Regions from separate parts of the Homo sapiens genome. Here regions 1 and 3 are each linked to region 2. The links are contacts of gene promoters, found by promoter capture Hi-C in blood cells and fetal thymus (Javierre and others, 2016). All regions are on one chromosome and are shown on one strand. Each heading gives the region's core, a stretch centred on a gene start or on the middle of the fragment in contact. The rest is flanking DNA. Distances are from core to core; before and after follow the strand shown.

Region 1 (3,646 bases), core at 1,016-3,515, 1.0 Mb after region 2:
ATTGATTTATTATTTTGTGTCCAGGGTGTCCCTAAGCCCTTATGTAGTTGTTTGACATGAGCTTTAGGGTCTGTATTCAAATACTTTTTATAAATTCTTTTCAAACTTTTGCCCTCAGAGAAGAATAAAGTATATTTAAGTGACGATGATACGTTCAGGAAATACATTCAATGATTACAGAATAGTAAAGATTTCAACAGGGCTCTTTCCTCCCGTTGCCCCCATGCATTTTCTTTTGAGTAAGATCTGCTTGTCTGTTGCCAAGCTGCAGATCATACTGGGAGGCCTGGACTTCCATCATCTGCAGCCCTCCTAGGGCCTGATACAGTGCTCAGGAAATGAGCTTGCCCATTCTTATAATCCCTTGAACCTACAGCATGGTGAGGATGGGAGTTTTGGTGCACTTGAACATTATTTATTGTCATTTAGTCAGGGTTGTGGGAGGAATTTGCAGTGAGGAGTGGCTTATGCATTGCTGTAAAGTTTTCCAGAGATGATAAGTGGCTATTTCAATGTTCTTCATCTTTTTATAGGTCCGATACCTGGAAATTAGCTTAGTACACAAGACTCCCAATTACTATTTTCTTCCTTCCCAGGTAATGTTGTTTTTCAATGAAGAGCATTCTTTGAACCCCATCTTCTTTAACATTAATTTAGTGGAATGAGCTCTGCTTGAAGGGGCTATGGAGAATTCCCATAGACTGATCATATAATTTTCTTTTTTAATCTATTCTGTTTTTGCAGAAACTGTTCCCAAAGCTTTACTACTCTTATTTATACTAACAAAATCTGAATTTGTATCTCAAATTCTGATTACCCAAATAAGTACCAAACTTCATCATTTAAGACTACTGAAATATTCCCTCACATCTTCCAGAGACACATTTATGTAAACAATTTCAGAGCTGAACATGCCATTCTTCCCCACCCTGCTTCTCTTACAGTTTTGTGTAACTTGGTTTTTGATGCCACCATCACCAGTTGTTCAATCCAGGAACTTGAAACTCATCTTGGCCCCCTTCCTCTCATGCACCTCCAATATTCAAGCCATGGCCAAGTTTTATGCATTCTTCTCTCAAATTTGGAAATGTCTCTTCATTCTTACTTCTATTATTTTATTAAAGAACTCTTATTCCTTAAGTGCCCCCCTTAAAATAAAAGAAACTTATATTTGAAAGCAATTTAGAGGCTAGAAATGCATGTTTTTATCAAGTTCAGATATTACTCTACTGAATTTATTAAGGATGATTACCTCATGAATGTTTTCTTAAATGTTTCACAGCATGGGATACTCACTATATAACCAAATACTGTATTCTCAAAAATAACTCAAATGCTTTTCTTTAGTTTTTCTCTATTGCTTTCACAAATCCTTACAAAGAAACCAAACATTTCTTCTACTAAATTATTATTTTATAGTTTTCTCCAATATAATCATTCTAATTAGTTCTTCTCCATGTCAACACACTTCATGCTGCCTTTGTTTATCTGATTGTATAGCAGTTTTTCAAATTTGTTTGCAAAATTAAATATTATTATTTTGCCTTAATAGTTTCTAAAAGATCCTCTGGATATCTAGAAACCTCAGTTCTATCTTGAAACAAACATCACATTAATTTTTTAACAAGTGCATCACATTGTCAGATTGTGTTGATCTTGTGATGAAATAAAAGCCTCAAAGATTTTCTCACATAAACTCTGTGAAAACATTTCCTCATATGTTCGTGAAAGCAATGTTTAGTGCTATGAATCCATCTAGAGCACACCATGATTTTAGCATTCATCGTTCTATTTTATATTTATTCTAGTTTACGTATTCAATATTCTTGTCCTCCCATATGTATACATTGTAGGAGGAGATGCTGAAGGACAGGAAAAGGGATCATTAAAAAAATATTCCCAGTGTTTACTACCATGTCTATTAGGTAAATAAATAAAAGGATAAACACATATTTTAAAAATTAATTAGTGTTAATTAAGACCTGCTCCCATTAAATTTTATCCTAGGGTTTGAATCCTTTGAAAACAAATCATATTTTAACTATTTTATATCACTCATTGACTGTTTCCTGAGTGTTTTATCATGCATGGCCTTGAAAAGCTTCCTCTCTGTTTTTATCTAAGATGCTTGTAGAAATACTTATGCTCAAATATGAAAGTAGATCCTCCCTGTAATGCATACCTAGAAATCTCTGGCTTGAAATGTGCTCCATTAGCAGCAAACGCACTCAACTATGTTAATGACTAGATTAGGATTGTCCTCTAGGAATGTATTTCCTCTTTTGTAGCTTCCTCCATAGGTGAGGCTATAAGAACAAAGAGGGATACCACTGTTCATGATATTCCTTGTCTCTTGCAGCTCTTCAGGCAGTGCAGGACAACCCAGCTATGCCCACATGCTCAAGCCCAGAAGGCAGAATCAAGCTTTGCTTTCTAGAAGACGCTCAAAGGATATGGAAACAAAAGTTGCAGAGGTGCCATGTTCAGAATACAATAATAAAGTGGAGTGAAAGATATACTTCAGGCAGTTTTGAAATGCAGTGGCTTTTTCTTAGAACCAATTTTATTGAGCGGTTCTGGAGGAACATACTTCTGCTCCCCTTGCATAAAGGATCTCTATATCCTAGAATCCCAGGTTTAGGTAAAGAGTTGCAAACTGGAACTCATAAATTATCATAGTCTTCACCCAGTCTGTCTCTTAGAATTTATTTCCCACTGACACAAACAAGCCATTTTGTCTGCTTGTATAACCCAGATTTTCCAGTGTAGTGCCCAGTTGGAAAAAAGCACATCCCATTGAGCAAGTATTGAAGTGGACTCTTGCTTCTCACCCAATTCTCCAACTTGTGTTTACCAAGAATTGGAGTCAGTTTTTTACCTGTTGTTCCTATTCATAAAATGAAATTAATGTTTATTTAACATATTGAAATGAAGCATATGAATAATTTAGAAGCACTTTACCAAAAAGTACATTTTAACATTACCTTGCTTCTGGGCTATAGCTTATGACTACTATAAATGAGAGGTATAGTGGCATGCTCTCTACACCAGGCATTGCATCTTAGAAGGTAAGAATGATAATGAGGCCCCTCCTATACATGAGAACACGGAGGATGGGAGATGTTAAATAACTTGGTTAAGATCTACAGCTCATAAATAGAAGTTGACCCTAGGGCTATTAGATGCCAAAGTCCACACTGATAAACCGGGCAGAAAGAAAGAGGCTTTTAGACAAAGAAAAAATAAAATAACATGTAATAGTTGATTAGTGCTCTAAGTTGTATTACACAAAATGTGCTGATAGTCCAAAAATATAACTAAGAAGAGTTGGATAAACTGAAAGTGTCCATGAACTTCTAAGGCTTGGAAATGGGATGGCCAAAACCCAAGCACAGAATTGTCTGCCTTCTATGTCAGAGATTTTTACAGTACCTACTCTGTCATTTAAAATTATATTGTTTCCCAGACTTCACACTGACAGGATTTTATAACATTATGCACATTTAAAATATTACTTATAATAGAATTGTTACATTCATTTATTTTGAGATGATTTTACCTTTGTAATTCTATTTTCCAAGTACACATTTAAGTCAACAATTTGGTTCCTATAAATTATATCCACTCTGTCTACAATTCCCCATCC
Region 2 (3,759 bases), core at 1,044-3,543:
GCAAGCACTGCATAGTCTCCTTGATGAGAGATGTTAAAGTTGAAATTCGGGTAAGGATTCGATGAGTCCTTTGCAAGAACTGGTTTTCCTTTTGCAGTTCTTTGCAAACGAATATGATTCCAAGGGATATTCAATTTCTCTGCAACTAATTTCCTTATCATCAGACGACCAGCCTGTTAAGTACATAAAACATTTGGTATGTACTGATGTCTACTAAAGATACAAGCACACTGTATGCAATAGTACTTTTTTTTGGTTTCTAAAATTTTCATTTTTAAAACTTTTCAAAATACTTAAGTATTAAACACACGTTAATTAAGACTTAAGCAATGCTTAAGTAGATAAAAAGTTAAAGCCCGCCTTAGCAATTCCCTCTCCTTTGCTAGTGACCAAAGTTAACAGCTGGCATCCTGTCAGTCTTTTCTGTATTTAAATATATGTGCATTTACATGTTTTTGCTAACTCTACATATAAACACAAACATGAGATTATACTTATGCAGTATTCTACCACATATAAGCTTTAAATTTATAAGTATTGGGAAGTATTTTATGTCTGTACACACACGTCTGGTCCATGCAGTTTTAACTGTAGCATATTTCATAATATTATTTCCCCTTTATTGGACATTTTAGGCTGGCTCTAGACTTGCTGTCAAAAACAACTCTGCAGTGAGCAACCCTACTGTACCTACATCTGTGCATATGTATTTCTAGATCCCATATATTGATCACCCAGCTTCAACAATTAGCAAGGCATGACCTATCTTGTTCTGCTCTCTCCCACCTCCAATTATTATTTTTTAAATAATTACTAAAAACACACACACAAAAAAACAAGAATATAAGATGACAAAGTATATATTTTTAAAAATATCTTTCAGGTTTTTTTCTTCTTCAATTCTAACACTGACTTTTAAAAACTGCAGGCTTTTAAATGTAGCTTATTTTACAATTCCTTACAAATGAGTAAAAAATTTTCACCAATGTGCCTTAAAAATTATCAACTAGTCTACATTTCAAACAGAAAGTGTTTCAATATGGGACATTTTTAAGAAAGGACTGTCTTTTAAATGATGGTAATTCACGGTTGTTTCAAATTGCACCATATTGTACAGATTACTTGTTTTGAAATCCAGTTTTCCATTTGTTGCTTCAAAATACATAGCTAAAATAAATAAATCTACGTAAAATACTGTTTCCCATGGCATCTAGTGAGGAAGGTATCCTCTCTGGCTTCAATTTCATTGGCTTCAATCCCGGGGAGCGCAGGGCTACAAACTAAATCATACTGTCAATAATTTCTAGGGCCTACCACGTGCAGGGAGTCCTTGGAGAATGATGGGATATTTAACAGGCAGAATAAGCATAGGCTATGAACGCACACAAACAAAAAAAAATAACATTTAAAGATAAAGACATAAAAACATTCATTACAGAAAAACCCAATTTTGTCGGCCTTCCCTACACTTATTTCATGGTTTAGGAGGGTCTCCATTTGAAATAACAAGGGGAAAGAGATAATGTTTACAGCCATCGCGGCCTCCAAGGCGGTTACAAAGGCCGTGGAAACCAGGCCGTGCGTCGCCCACAACTCCGCAGCGCCGGCTGCTGTCGCCCGGGCCGGCCACAGGCTCCACAGCGAGAGGGTCGCGGCCAGCGCGGGAGTGTCGGGTCTCCACAGCCCGGCCCGCCTCCCCCAAGATCTGCTTCCTAGGCTCTAAATACCAAAAAAGACCTGTAGTACCATGGCTGCCTTAGCGTCCCGGGCAAAGACGAACTGGCCAATGCGCTCCTTCTCCTCGGGCTGAATCGATCGCACTGCCAGCAGCCATTCGGCTCGGCTCGGCAGCCAAGTGCCGCAGGAAAAGGCCCAGCGCACGCCCTCCATGGATGGCACCAAGCAGAACCGTTTGGCAGGGAAAACCATACACTGAAAGCGGACCTCGCCGCTATCTCGGGCCTGATGGCGCGGACGCAAACGTGGCCCCACCCCCTTCTTCCCGGCGTCCGTGCGCAGGGGACGGGCCGTCGCTACGCAGACTGGCCCACCGACAGCCCTCCCAGCCCGCCCCCGACTCAGCCACCTCCTCTCGGAGAAAGCAGCTGGGGGCGGAGACGGAGATCAGCCCTGCGCTTTGCGGCATTGTATGACGTCAAGTAGGCGAGGCTTCGGAGGCGAGCGAAGGGCGGGACCAAGGCCAAGAGCCCGACAGTTACGCCACTCACACTTGCGGAAGAGTTAACGGGACAGCGGTGCAGGCCAATCGCAACCAGTCCTCTGGAGGCAGGGAGACTGGGGTGGAGACTTCGGAGACTGCAGTTGCAGGTGGGTGAGCTCCGGGGTCTGAGGGAGGAGTGGGATGGTAGCCCTTATTCTCAGGGTCTGAGTTGGCCCCTGTGACCCACAGAGAAGAGAATGTCCTTGGCTTCAGCTGCTTCGTGTACGGGGCACGAGAGGTTTCCATCTCTAGGAGGGGGTCTGCAGTGGTGCCCCCTGCAGTTGTGCAACGCATCAGCCCTGAGTTCCTTCTTTCCCTGCCCCCATCCGCATCAGCCTAAGACCCACCCTCACACAGTACGCTCCCGACCCTTAGCAGCAGCCTACCTGAAACCCTCCCTCCGAAGGCCGAGCAGAGGCACTATCCCCAGTGCGCAACACTGACCCCGCCTGGATCCGAGGCTGCCAGCGAGCAGCTGAGCTAATGCTGGCTGTTTATTTGGGGCGATGAAGCGACCCAGGTGCTGTTTTGCTATTGCCAAGCCTGGGCTAGAGCACTAGCGAGAAAACAGGATTCCATTGTTGAGGTATCAGTGTTTCCATCATGACAGAGGTCCTTGCTCTAACAGCAACAGAAACAAGTAAATAACTTTGCTCAGTTATTTTCTCAGACTTTGCGAAGGGTCATATTGATGTATGTCTGTTTCCTTAGTTGTTCCGTGTAGGCTGTTGTTGACTCTCGTATGAAAGCCCACGCGATCCAAGTGCCCTGCAGGTTTTGGTCCAGGGAAAAGTTGGTCTCTGCAGATGACTGTAAATGACTACCTGGAGGTCGATTAAAGTGCGGTACTGCGGGATTCAGCCGATTTCCTTCTTCCTCTGACTGCCCGGAAATATCAGCCAAAGGCCAGCGGTAGTAATTAACACAATTACCTGCCTATGATTTCTGTCCTATTTAAGATGGGTTCTATTATGTTTTTATCTATACTTGTCTTCATTAACTTTTCGTGATATCATAAGCCCCCCGAATCCCTCGAAAGTAGATGGGATTCTGAGCACACACACACACAAATTCAGATCCCCAAAGGACAGTAAAACGAATTATTGGCTTAATATATCATCTTAGCTAACCAAAAGCCTGTGTCAGCTGCCATGTTGAAAATCTGCTTACCAGCTGCAGGGAGCTTACAATCTGGTAAGGCAAATAAATCATACGCATAAAAAGTACAATAAGAGACAGTGTAAAGATACGTAAGTGATACTAATACCCATATCAGCAATGATCATAACTCACTTCTCCATTTTTAACTAAGAATCATATAACCTTTCCTTCTTGTCGTTTTAAACTGATTTTTATAACTTTGATACATTACGTTTCTGTTTCCAAAACACTTCTGTGTACGTTATTGCACATGTTCTGTGCACTAGTTATTACTGATGGAGACAATGAGCTCAGAAAGAGAATTTGTTTAAATTCAGGAATTCATATCCCATTATTTTACCATCGAGCAAGATCTCTGTGTATTAGATCTATGGAGC
Region 3 (3,654 bases), core at 575-3,074, 1.0 Mb after region 2:
ACCCTAAGCAAATTAATACAGAAACAGAAAACTAAGTACCACATGATCTGACTTATAAGTGATAGCTAAATAGTAGGCACTCATGGACATAAAGATGGAAATAATAGACACAGGGAGCAACTAGAGGAAGGAGTGAAGGAGGAGGGCAAGAGCTGAAAAACTATATACTGGGTGCTACTCTCACTACCTAGGTGATGGGTTAAATCATACCCCAAACTTCAGCATCACATAATATACCTTTTTAACAAACCTGCGTGTGTATCCCTGAATCTAAAAAAACAATTGAAATGAAAACAAAAAGTGAAATGTAAACTATTTGGTTAATTATTACGGGAAAATGCAAGGAGACTAGTTAAATTTTACTCATTCAGGACATGTATTTTAGATTAGCTGAGGTAGAAAAACTGACAGATCAGAAGAAAGGATGAACAGAAGGAGGTGTGGGGGCCATGGTATTCTTCATGACAATTTGAATAACTTGTGAAGAAAAAAAGTTCTGATATTGAAGAGAAAGGAAAAGAAAAAATATTATGCCGAAATTGAAGACAAAGCCCTCATCTTGCTAGACAATGTGCTAAAGAACCCTGTGGCTGGACAAAAGTCTATCGAGACCCTACTTAATACGTACCAAAAGTCCACCAGTATGAAAGGTAAGATTGGTATTTTACAATGGATATCTCCATTTTTTTAGACTCTATTCAACTCCAAGGCCCATGCAGTGTCTTCTGTGATCTCTCTATCCTTCCTTTACAAATCTGTCATTTTCATTAAACCTGTGATTGTTCTTTAAGGGACTACCTTGCCTTTTGTGGGGTGGGATCCAGTTTCCAACTGGCTAAAAGGCTGAGTCCTCAGGTTCAGACTGTTCATAGAAATAATTAATAGTAGATGCTTTGTAGTAAGAGATACTCAAATCTAAACCTAGATTCTGTCAGTAAAGTATATGTCTTCCTGCATGTATCTTAAACGCTGTAGCTGACTAATCATCAGTCTTACCACATATAAAGCAGGGACAATTCCAGTCCTTTTTCATAAGACTATGTAAAGCTAGAGGCAATATAATGCCAGGCATCACATACCAACAACTTCCAAGATATTAGGCCTCATCCAGAACTCTCTCCTTGGAGCTCCAGATTCATTTAGCTGTAGCAGCATATTCAACAATTCCACTAGAGTGTTTCACTGGCATCACAAAATGAATACAGCTGAAATTAACCATTTTGTTTTCCAGAACAAACCTGTTCCACTTTTAACCCTTTTCCATTTAAGTAAAAAGAGCTAAAATATACTAAGTTTCTGCCACCAGAATGTAACTAGTTTCTTCAATAATTAATAGGAGTAAGTACTAGAGATCCTGGCACATAGCAGATACGTAATTAATATGTGATGAATAAACAGATGAAGTGTATGCATGCAATAAAGAGTAGTTTTCCTAATTATTATTAGGATGCTACAAATTGGAATTTTTCAGTGTTTACTCATTTCTGTGAATTAAAAAAATATGATTGGGGAACTCCTATAAAATGTTTAAATTTTATAACTTTTTAAAACTTTTGACTGTAAGATTATATTATGAGTATTATTAGAGTTTAAATATTCTCAGATCCATGTTTTTCAGGGATAGACAAAATTTTCCATAGAATTACACTGAAATCTGCAGCCCTGAACTACTAGAGTTTACCAATAATTATATATTATTTATCACGTACAATTCTCATATATAATGAGCACTAAATTCCAAAATGAAATAACCTTTCTGATCAGCAGAGGTTGTGGCAGGAAGGAGGTAGCTGCAGATACCTGCAGCAGGGGTCCAGTGGCTCCCTGCACTCTATCTGCATTTGGATTCTCCAGAGTGATGGATCCCAGGACGTTTTAGGGTCACTAGCCCAGCAGACCAGGAAGCAGGTTAACAAGGCTATTAGAAGAGGTCTAGGCCTTGGCCAGGCCTTTGGATATGGTTATAATTCTGAGGTTTTCCAGCAGAGCATTGGATTCTGAAGTTCAGGATAAGAAGAATCCTAGCTATTTGTTTGTTTCATTTAACAAACCAACATATATATATATATAAAATATTATATATAATATAATATATAGATACACACATAATATACATATATTATGCAGTATATAGAAATCACAGTTCCAAGACTGTGATTTAGTCAGAGACATAGCCATGTAAACCCCTACATGCCATGGCAATTGTTTGTCTGACCCTATACCACTCCCTCTCTTTTTGTCTCAATGTAAAGAGATTCCAGGGGAGATTCCTGAGAGAGTCCTATTTCATTACATAACAGATAAGACTCAAATTGAAATGCTTATCTAAACTCCTGATTTCCACATTTCTTTCTGTTGTACTGCTAGGCTAATAGAAACTCTCTTTGGGCAGCAATCTGCACTATAATATTTATAATATTGTAATAAAATAACCATTTTCATGCTAACTTTACTATAGGATATGAGAGAAATTTTGTCTAATTTTTATTTTACCTAAAATCACTTTATATATATATAGATAGATAGATAGATATACAGATGCATATATAGATGCATCTATATCTATGTCTCTATCTCTCTATCTATCTATCTATCTATCTATCTAGATGCATAAAGGTCATTAAAAGATGACTATTAACTTAGGAAATTCTCCAAACCTGTAAACAGGAAAACATACCCCCAGACCTGGAATATATCAGGACCCTGGATGTCTTCACATTGGCAGAACTTTCTGAAATGAGAAGGAGGAACATATGTCACTGTTTAATCTATGAAGAAATATATGCTTAGAAGGTTTGGTTTCCTTACATACTCTTAAAACTTGTTGCATCCCCAGAGATCAGGTTTTTATCATACACTTTAGCAAGATATTTATTCTAAAATATCATTAAAAACGAATGGAAACAAATGATTGAAATAGAAAAAATACATGAAATATAACAAAACAATATAAATTGTAGACAGGATAATAGTACTTTACTCATAGTTCCTATGTCTTGATTGGGTCATGTAACCAAACATAAATACTATGCCTGTCCATTCTTTTCATGAAAAGAAACCTTGTTATTATATCTTAGTAAACTTTTCTTCTAATTTGTATGCATGAATTCTTTTTTCTTTTCCAGAAGGAAGGCTCAAGAATCTCCCAGTTTCTTGCACAATATCAGTCAAAAGAGATGAATATTATATTTCACAAGGGGATAGATCAGAATGACTATTACAAACTTATCCAAAAGAGATATATTATTTCCTCACATTATAAAACACAAGGTAAAAAACTTAGTGTTGGTTGTTCAGCACTTTGGAGGCAAGACGTCCACATTTACGTCAGAATCTCGTACAAATATTTGTCCCTTTGACCTTGGACACAGTACTATTGTCACTAGACAACATTTCTTCTTTGAATAGCTGATTTCAAAATTTGTTAAAAGATATCTGAAACCCGTTTCTTCTAGAAAAGTTGGTCATTCACTTAAAGTTTGCTTTTAAAATACCAGGATGGTACAGAAATCAATATTCTGTTAAGTGTTTGCTGTATATATGTATCTGTGTGTGGTGTGGACTAGGAGGGAACTATTACTCCAAAATGGAATGTTGTCTCATCCAGTTTTGTAGCCACATGTACCTATTAAGTACTTAACTTGTGGCTAGTGG

What was found. The method cuts DNA at HindIII sites, captures the fragments that hold promoters and counts their contacts. A CHiCAGO score of 5 or more calls a contact.
Region 1: a contact is called between a fragment that was not itself captured here and the fragment with the promoter of KBTBD3 in region 2, in 1 of 17 cell types (total CD8 T cells). The highest score is 5.3, in total CD8 T cells.
Region 3: a contact is called between a fragment that was not itself captured here and the fragment with the promoter of KBTBD3 in region 2, in 1 of 17 cell types (total B cells). The highest score is 6.0, in total B cells.

What each region holds. Positions count from the first base shown.
Region 1 is chr11:105,040,433-105,044,078 of GRCh38, reverse strand. It overlaps CARD16 (caspase recruitment domain family member 16), which reads left to right. Exons shown (of 4, transcript NM_052889.4): 3 at 534-596; 4 at 2,360-2,516. The coding sequence ends at 553. Among named protein-coding and RNA genes, the nearest start is that of CARD16, 3.1 kb to the left of the region's middle. The HindIII fragment of the contact is 323 bases long and covers 2,104-2,426 here.
Region 2 is chr11:106,075,881-106,079,639 of GRCh38, reverse strand. It overlaps KBTBD3 (kelch repeat and BTB domain containing 3), which reads left to right and starts at 2,293. Exons shown (of 4, transcript NM_198439.3): 1 at 2,293-2,328; 2 at 2,933-3,133. It overlaps AASDHPPT (aminoadipate-semialdehyde dehydrogenase-phosphopantetheinyl transferase), which reads right to left and starts at 1,978. Exons shown (of 6, transcript NM_015423.3): 1 at 1,747-1,978; 2 at 1-173. The coding sequence starts at 1,929. RefSeq lists enhancers at 1,711-1,950, 2,261-2,370, 2,381-2,500. The HindIII fragment of the contact is 8,387 bases long and covers 523-3,759 here.
Region 3 is chr11:105,057,437-105,061,090 of GRCh38, reverse strand. LOC107984381 (a long non-coding RNA gene) reads right to left here. Exons shown (of 3, transcript XR_001748352.2): 2 at 2,678-2,731. Among named protein-coding and RNA genes, the nearest start is that of CARD16, 14 kb to the right of the region's middle. The HindIII fragment of the contact is 4,901 bases long and covers 1-3,654 here.